Linked DNA regions of Homo sapiens: region 2 is linked to region 1. Evidence: promoter capture Hi-C in 16 types of primary human blood cells and fetal thymus (Javierre and others, 2016). All regions are on one chromosome and are shown on one strand. The core of a region is centred on a gene start or on the middle of the fragment in contact, and the rest is flanking DNA. Distances in the headings are between cores, read along the strand shown.

What was found. Contacts are between HindIII fragments. The CHiCAGO score rates a contact against its expected background, and 5 or more counts as called.
Region 2: a fragment that was not itself captured here is called in contact with the fragment with the promoter of CIRBP in region 1 in 1 of 17 cell types (naive B cells); the score reaches 5.0 in naive B cells.

The regions. Positions count from the first base shown.
Region 1 is chr19:1,267,973-1,272,517 of GRCh38, reverse strand. It overlaps CIRBP (cold inducible RNA binding protein), which reads right to left and starts at 3,186. Exons shown (of 6, transcript NM_001300829.2): 1 at 3,108-3,186; 2 at 1,482-1,590; 3 at 1,272-1,378; 4 at 1,051-1,189; 5 at 886-967; 6 at 1-537. The coding sequence starts at 1,584. The coding sequence ends at 75. CIRBP-AS1 (CIRBP antisense RNA 1) reads left to right here and starts at 2,258. Exons shown (of 2, transcript NR_027271.1): 1 at 2,258-2,693; 2 at 4,128-4,545. RefSeq lists silencers at 2,570-2,879, 2,930-3,089, 3,300-3,509. The HindIII fragment of the contact is 17,228 bases long and covers 1-4,545 here.
Region 2 is chr19:1,791,922-1,796,033 of GRCh38, reverse strand. It overlaps ATP8B3 (ATPase phospholipid transporting 8B3), which reads left to right. Exons shown (of 29, transcript NM_138813.4): 18 at 47-159; 19 at 3,899-4,033. Among named protein-coding and RNA genes, the nearest start is that of ATP8B3, 18 kb to the left of the region's middle. RefSeq lists a silencer at 1-204 and enhancers at 1-204, 1-424. The HindIII fragment of the contact is 226 bases long and covers 1,151-1,376 here.

The sequences.
Region 1 (4,545 bases), core at 1,937-4,436:
TTAACGTTCAGCGAAGCTCCCACAATCTTTAAACACACAGCCATTGGAAGGACGATCTTGAGCAGGAAGGGTTTTTACTCGTTGTGTGTAGCTGAGGACAAGAAGCAGGCACAGTGTAAAGGCACCGAAGCAACAAGAGGCAGCTTCACCCCAGAGGCCAGACCAGGGCGCGGCCTGCGGCCGGGGAGCAACCACCCCCCACAGCCGAGGGAGGCTGGCCTGCGGCCACACATGCACCTAGCTGACTGCCCAGCGGGCCCTCGCTCTCCCTTGCCTTTTTGGTCAGTCTCATTTGGCTTTTGCGTCCTGCGATAGAAATGGCTCTGAGAGGACAGATGCGCCTCTTCTGGGCAAGCACAGTGACAAGGTCTGAGTGTCCAGCCTAAAGTGCTTGGAGAGGGCACCAAGGTGAACCGAGCTCCCACCGCAGGCCACAGCAGCGTGGCGCCCTCGGAGTGTGACTTACCGTAACTGTCATAACTGTCTCTGTAGGACCCGCCCGAGCTCCGGTCACTGTAGCCACCACTCTGACTCCGGCTGCAAGACAGACAAACGTTGAGTACCGGAAGGTACCCGTCTACTTCTGCTCTGCCACAACAGGCTGAGCCGCCAGCCCCCATGCCAGCCGTCCCTTCTGGGGACACAACAAGGACCCCAGCAGGGCAGCATCTTGGAAATTGTTCAAAATCTCCACCAGCCTGTCCCCCAGGCCCTCCCGCTTCTGCGAATGTCCTGAGCAGTCTCCTCTCCTCTTGGCCTGGGTCCCCACCTGCCTCTGCTCCTTGCCCAGCCAGTCTCATCTCAGCTCCCCCAGGGACCTGGGACCCGGGACGGAAGCTGGCCATCCCGCAACCACCCCTGTGCTTGGGCCGGCCTCCCCCTCACCTGCTATAGTAGTCTCTGGAGCCTCCGTAGCCCCCACTCCTGGACTCGAACCGGTTCCCCCCATAGCCTCGGTCCCCTCCTCCTGCACATACAGGAAAAAGTGAGTACCAGCTCCCACCAGCAGTACCTCACAGCATCCCCAAGGGACCCACTCATGGCACTCACCTCTAGAGAACCCACGGCCCCGTCCTCGGCCCCCACGGAAGAAGCCCCGGCCCCCGGCAGAGCCACCACGGTACCCACGGGATCGGTTGTCTGACGACTTGCCTGCCTGGTCTACTCGGATCTGCCGTCCATCTACAGACTGGAGACAGAGGGCGGGACGGGTTAGCAGGTGGGTGCCCCATCCTCGAGACGGGACTCCTGCTCAGCACCCTGATCCTCACCTTCCCATTCATGGCCATCATGGCATCCTTAGCGTCGTCAATGTTCTCAAAGGTGACAAACCCAAATCCCCGAGATCTCTGGGTCTCCCTGTCTTTCACAACCACCACTGTGCAGGGGAGAGAGGTCTGCAGTCAGCACCCAGCTGTACTTCCAGGTAGGAGGAGCACAAGCCCCCCCGCCCAGGGCCGCGGGCCCAGCAGCAGCCTCACCTTCAGAGATCTGTCCGTACTTTGAGAAGACCTGCTCCAGCGACTGCTCATTGGTGTCAAAACTCAGCCCTCCAACAAAAAGTTTGCCTTCATCTGATGCCATGGCGGCCTGTGGCAGACACCAATGAAATCCTCAACAGGGGTCATCTCTCACCACCTCTCCCCGCTTCCTATTTTATGTAAATGACATGTGTTTTTTAGGGGAAATATTAGAAAATCAGATTTTTATTTTTCATTATCTCAAACTCATACCTAGGACTTATTTTTTTGGGGTCGGGGGCAGTGTGTCTAACTGTCACCCAGACTGGAGTGCAGGGGTCACTGCAGCCTCCACCTCCTGGGCTCAAGCAATCCTCCTACCTCAGCCTCCCAAGAAACTGGGACTGTAGGTGTACACCACCACGCCTGGATAATTTTTTTAAATTTGTTTTAGTAGAGATGGGGTCTTGCTCTGTTGCCCAGGCTGGTCTGAAACTCCTGGGCTCAAGCAATCCTCCCACCTTGGCCACCCAAAGTTTTGGGATTACAGGTGTGAGCCACCGCACCCAGCCACCTAGGACTTCTTAATTCAAATAATTTACTCCATCCACCCCCAAGACTGAAGGCAGGCCGCACCCATTTCCACAATGGGTGTCTCCCTTCCCCCACAGCCTTCCAGTTGTGCCCTGGGCAGGACTGCACTCTCAGGTTCTCCTATTTCCGAACGGGTGCCAACTCCTACCCTAACCAACTGACATCTACTTGTTGCTGGACCAGAACGTGCTTCTGCTCACTGTAAAATGCCTCCTGAGACTGGGGGGGGGGCTGGCTGTCAGGGAGGCCGCCCCGTCCTGGGGGGCACCTCAGGGCAGGTACTGACTTCCATAGCCAGGACCTAGGCCGGGAATCGGGAAGGGATGGCCCCGGAAGTGATAAGGCAGGATTTCCAGGCAGGGGAAGTGGCATTTAGGAGAACTGGCTATTTAAGGGGGCGGTCAGTGCTGACACAGACAAAGCATTCACTGGCTGGGAATGGCCGCCACCCAGTGGCTCTGAGAACTAGACTTGGAAGTCTGGCACTGGGAGCTGTGCCAACTTGGACCAAACTTTGGGCGCAAAGCACGACGTGGCAGACGAGGAACCACACTAGAACGGGCCACGCCTACCCAAGATTTACGAGGCCGTCCTTTCCCTCATGCAATCGCAATGGGAAAAGGAGGAAACTAAGGCTCGGTAAGCAAAAGCGTTGGTGTGTGGATACCTCCAGCCCCAAGGCCGGGAAAGCGGCCCTGGAGACCGGGGGCGCCACGTGGCCCCGCCCCCGCCGCGTGCGCATGCGCCCCGCGCGCACCCTGCGCCACTCCATCCGGGAACTCGGCGCTCCCGCCATTTCGCTGGGCACAGCCTCGAGCTCGCGGCCGCCATTTTGCGGCGGCAACCGGGTCGCCGGCGGCCCGGACCGGCGGGGAGAGGCCCTCTGGCCGCTACTCGGCCCAATCTCCCGCTGTCCCTCGCCGCCGGCGGGGCGGACTCCACCCCGGGCCCGCCCCCTCCCAGGGGCGTGCCGCTGCGGCCCCGCCTCGCCTGGCCGCCGCAGGCCGCCCGCCGCCCCGAGCTCCTCGGAGCCGGTGCAGCCAGGGCCCTCACCACTGAGTCGGGCAGGTCCCTGACGCAAGCGGGAAGACAGCGCACCACAACGACCCGAGCCTCCTAACGCGCGAGTGAGGGGGGGGCGTCCCCGAGCCCGGCCTTATATACGCTTCCGCCGGGCCCCGCCCCCTACACATCCTGGGCCAATCAGAGGGCGCGCCTGCGTCTTATATTCATGAGCTGGGGGCCGAGTCTATCTCGGTTCCGCCCCCTCCCGCGGACTGGTGTCGGGCTCGACTATTGGCCGAGACGTTTGCAGTCCGCAGTCCTCCACCCGCGCTCGAGGGGGCGTGACCAGCGCGCGGCGGGGCGGGGCGGGGCTGACCCAGTTACGCGTGCCTGCTCCCTGGCCTGCGGCGGGGAACAAATGGGCCTCTAGCCCCGATTCCCAGGCCTCAGGCCTCATGGGGACTTCTGGGTGTCACTGGGACCCCGACTTTGCCTGTGCTCCAGCAGTCCCGACATAACAACCTAGCCCAGATCCCCTACCCAACCAAGACCCGGCTGTCAGACATCCCAACTTCATCTGAACCCCGACACCTGTCGTGATATTCTTGCCAATACAACCGACGTCCCAGTTTTCCCAGCACCCCAGCACTCCATTCCTGCCATCAACCCCATGCCCACCAAAACCCCAACAGAGACAACCCCATTCATGCGAACCCCAATATTCGCAATCCCAATTCTTCCTACATCGCCACACTTTGGTGCACCCCAACTTTACGCAACCCAGTTTGCCTACAAACTCCAACCCGCACCCAAGCCTAACTCCCACTGGAACCGCGATTATCACGGCTGGGTGCGTGGCCCACACCCCCACACTCGCCTGGCCGGATAGTGTTGTGCGTCCCTGCTGTCGGGTGCAGGCGGACACCCCGAGTCCCCACTGCACCCCAGCACTCCGCCCGGCCCTCGGCCTCCCCTCCCACCGTGCTGCACAGCAACGGCGCACTCGCTCCCCACGCGGGGCCAGGCCCACTCTGCTCCTCCACCCAGGCCTTTTCTCTCCTTCCACAGGCCTCCCCTACTGAGCCTGGTTGGCGGAGGGGAGTCTTAAAGCCGCCGCCATCTGGAGAACCAGCTTTACAAGGACCCTCACTCACTACTCTTCGGCGGCCCCAAAGCCTCTGGGGGGCCCTCTATGGCCACCACTTGCTCCTCGCCCAGGAGTCATCTCATGCCGCCGCCTCCCCCAGCCCTGGTGGAAGAAGCCAGCGCGGACCCCTGCCTCTCTGCCCCAGAAAGTCTTCGGAGGGATGACCCTCTGCTGACAAGCTGGGGGAAGTTGGCGTACAGAGACCCCCGCTTTGCTGCTCATCCCAGGGAAATCCCGGCCCCACTCCTGACCTCAGACTCACTTCCACCCTCAAGTGGATCGAGGTGGGGGTAGCCAGGGGCGCTGTCTCCAGTGACAAGGTCTCTGGGACCCCTCATG
Region 2 (4,112 bases), core at 14-2,513, 530 kb before region 1:
GGCAGACGGGGAGCCTCTGTGGGCAGCAGGGCCTGTTCCCCCACAGTTCGAAAGCCAGAGGGCGCCATCTGCCTGTACACCAAGGGCGCCGACACGGTCATCTTCGAACGCTTGCACAGGAGGGGGGCAATGGAATTTGCCACAGAGGAGGCCTTGGCTGTGAGTCCCTTCAGGAAGGCTGGCTTATGTGTGTGTGTGTGTGTGTGTGTGTGTGTGTGTGTGTGTGTGTGTGTGTGTGTGTGTGTGTGTAGGGACAGGAGGAGGAGGAGGCAGGGGAGGAGACTGTACGGAGAAATGGAAGGCTGCAGGTACCTGGGATGGCTATGTACAGTGAGGTATGTTGTGCACTGTACAAAACACCCTCCCCCGGCAACACACAAAACACACACACACCGGCTGGGAGGCAGCTGAACTCCCAAGTGTAGCCCCCAGAGAGAGAGCGTCTTTTTCTTTTTCTTGTCTTGTCTTTCTTTTCTTTTCTTTGAGACAGAGTCTTGCTCTGTCGCCCAGGCTGGAGTGCAGTGGCACAGTCTTGGCTCGCTGCAACCTCCGCCTCCCGGGTTCAAGTGATTCTCCTGCCTCAGCCTCCCGAGGAGCTGGAATTACAGGCACACGCCAGTGCACCCAGCTAATTTTAATATTTTTAGTAGAGATGGGTTTTCGCCATGTGGGCCAGGCTGGTCTTGAACTCCTGACCTCAGGTGATCTGCCCCCTTGGCCTCCCAAAGTGCTGGGATTACAGACATGAGCCATCGCGCCCAGCCTGCCTTTTCTTTTTTGAGAGGGAGTCTTGCACTGTTGCCCAGGCTGGAGTGCAATGGTGCAATCTTGAGTCACTGCAACCTCTGCCTCCCAGGCTTAAGCTATCCTCCTGCCTCAGCCTCCTGAGTAGCTGAGACTACAGGCGCCCGCCACCACGCCCGGCCAATTTTGTATTTTTAGTAGAGATGGGGTTTCACCATGTTGCCAGGCTGGTCTCCAACTCGTGACCTCAGGTGATCCACCCGCCTCGCCCTCTCAAAGTGCTGGGATTACAGGCGTAGGCCACCGCGCCCGGCCAAGGGTGTATTTTTCTCATTTGCACAAGACGACCGTGCGGTTGAGCTGGCCCAGCTGCCAGGACACACTCAGCTCCGTCTGCTCCAAAGCTTCCCACTCTGTGGGGGAAGCCCGAACTCCTCGGCCCAGGATTTGAGGCTTTTTCTGTCCCCTGCTGACCTCTCCAGCCTGGTCTCTCTTTGGCCTCACCAAGGGACTCCCTAGGACCCAGTTTCTGGCTTGTGACTTCCCCACTCTCAGGTGCTGCCTTGGCACCTTTGCACATGCTGTTTCCTGTGCTGGGAGGGTCTTCCCTGCACCTTTGTCATTCAGAAGCTTTCGGTGTCCTCATGACTCAGCCACAAGCTCCCCACACATGGGGCCTTTCCTGCCCCACCCCCTGCCAACATGGGGCTGTCATCACCCCAGGCTGCCTCCCCCTGGTCCAGCCCTGACCCTACAGGGCCAGAGGATTCTGCGTCCAGCCTGGGGGCTCCTCACAGGTTCTGCTGGGGCCCCAGCAGCATGGAGCACAGGGCAGCGGGGTGTGTGTGGGAAGATGTCCTGTGTCCCCTGCTCTGCCAGGATGTGGGGGCACTCTGAACTGGAAGTGCGGTCACAATAATGACCTAGAGCCCAGGAGCTCAGCAGGTCAGCTTAGCTCAGCCACCCCAGGGAATGGATGGGTAAATTGAGGCCGGAAGAAGGGTCAAGGCCTGTCGGAGGCTGCCAATGTCCGTGAAGCTCCTCTGCTGTGTCAAGCCCAAGCTCTTGGACCCGTGCCCCATCAACAACAAAAGGGAAATCAGACATGGTGGCGCGTGCCTGTGGTCCCAGCACTTTGGGAGCCTGAGGCAGGAGGATCGCTTGAGTGCAGGAGGTGGAGGCTACAGCAAGCTGTGATCGCACCACTGCACTCCAGCCTGGGCGACAGGGCGAGACCCCTGTCTCTTAATAAACAGGCTGGCGCGATGGCTCACGCCTGTAATCCCAGTGCTTTGGGAGGCGGGCAGATCATTTGAGGTCAGGAGTTCGAGGCCAGCCTGACCAACCTGGTGAAACCCTGTCTCTACTAAAACTACAAAATCAGCCAGATGTGGTGGTGCAGGCCTGTAGTCTCAGCTACTCGGGAGGCTGAGGCAGGAGAATCGCTTGAACCCGGGAGGCAGAGCTTGCAGTGAGCCAAGATCGCGCCACTACACTCCAGCCTGGGCAACAGAGTGAGACTCCATCTCAAAAAATAAATAAATAAAAATAAATAAATAAACAAATTTGAGACCTAAGGCCACCCCTTGGAGCACAAAGCTGGGGGCAGGGTCGGGGGGTAAGAAGCCGTAAGGGCACCTTCCTTGGGGACCCCCCGACCACCCTTGGGGTGCCTGCTCTCTGGGCCTGCCCAGTTTCCTCCCAGCCCCTAGAGGCCCCAACCCTGGGTCTGGCCCTTGAGAAATGAGGGGCCCAAGGAAGGGGCTCAGAGAGCCAAAGTTGAGGGGTCAGAGGGAGGGGCCTGGGACTGGGGGAGCCCCAGCTGGGGAAGGCACCGGGTGGGTGGACTGCATAGAAGGTCTTGAGTGATAGTCAGAATTCGCCATGCAGGCCAGGTGTGGTGGCTTCTGCCTGTAATCTCAGCGTTTTGAGGCTCAGGTGTGCAGCTTGCTTGAGCTCTGGAGTTCGAGACCAGCCCAGGCAACATGGTGAAACCACCTCTATTTAAAAAATATATATATATACAAAGAAATTAGCCGGGTGTGATGGCATGTGCCTATGATCCCAGCTATTTGGAAGGTAGAGACAGGAGAATCACTTGAGCCCAGGAGTTCGAGGCTGCAGTGAGCTATGATTGGGCCACTGCACTCCAGCCTGGGTGACAAAGTGAGACCCTATCCCCCACCCCCGAGAAAAAAAAAAAAAAAGAATTTGCTGTGCAAAGCATAGGGAAGGTGTTCCTGGCAGGGAAACAGTCCTCCAAGAAGGTCTGGAGGCAAAAGAGAGCTGAGGGTCTGGGGGTGGGAGCAGGTGTCTGAGACAGAGTAGGTGGGGAGCAGGGGCAGCTCAGTTTTCTTTTCTTTTTTTTTTTTTTTGAAACAGAATCTTGCTCTGATACTCAGGCTGGAGTGCGATAGGGCGATCTCAGCTCACTGCAACCTCGGCCTCCCAGGTTCGAGGGATCCTCCCACCTCAGCCTCCTGAGTAGCTGGGATTCCAGGCATGCGCCACCACACCTGGCTAATTTTTTATGTGTTTCGAGTGGAGACGCGGTTTCACCGTATTGGTTAAGCTGGTCTCAAACTCCTGGCCTCAAGTGATCCGCCTGCCTCGGCCTCCCAAAGTGCTGGGATTACAGGTGTGAGCCACCACGCCCAGCCCTCTTCCCCGCTTTCTTTCTATTGTTTTTTCTATTTTTTTTTTTTTTTTTGAGATGGAGTCTCACTTTGTCGCCCAGGCTGGAGTGCAGTGGTGTGATCTCAGCTCGCTGCAACCTCCGCCTCCCAAGTTCAAGCAATTCTCCTGCCTCAGCCTCTCAAGTAGCTGGGACTACAGGCACCCACCACCATGCCTGGCTAATCTTTGTATTTTGGGTAGAGACAGGGTTTCACCATGTTGGCCAACCTGGTCTCAAACTCCTGGCCTCAAATGATCCGCCTGCCTCAGCCTCCCAAAGTGCTGGGATTGCAGGCGTGAGCCACCGTACCCGGCCTCAGACCAGTTTTCTGAATCCCTTCTGGCTGCTGTTGGCTGGGGAGGCAACAGGCTTTTGGTTGGGGGACCCAGGCTCCGGAGCCCGGCAGGGGGTTGGGGAGGGCTGAGCCTCGGATGTCGGCTTCAGCATGGTGACAGCTTCCACCTGCCCGGCCCCCAGGCCTTTGCCCAGGAGACCCTGCGGACACTGTGCCTGGCCTACAGGGAGGTGGCTGAGGACATTTACGAGGACTGGCAGCAGCGCCACCAGGAGGCCAGCCTCCTGCTGCAGAACCGGGCACAGGCCCTGCAACAGGTGTACAACGAGATGGAGCAGGACCTCAGGGTGGGTGGGCAGCGGGGGCACCCAAGGGGGCCCTGGGACTCTCCTGCCC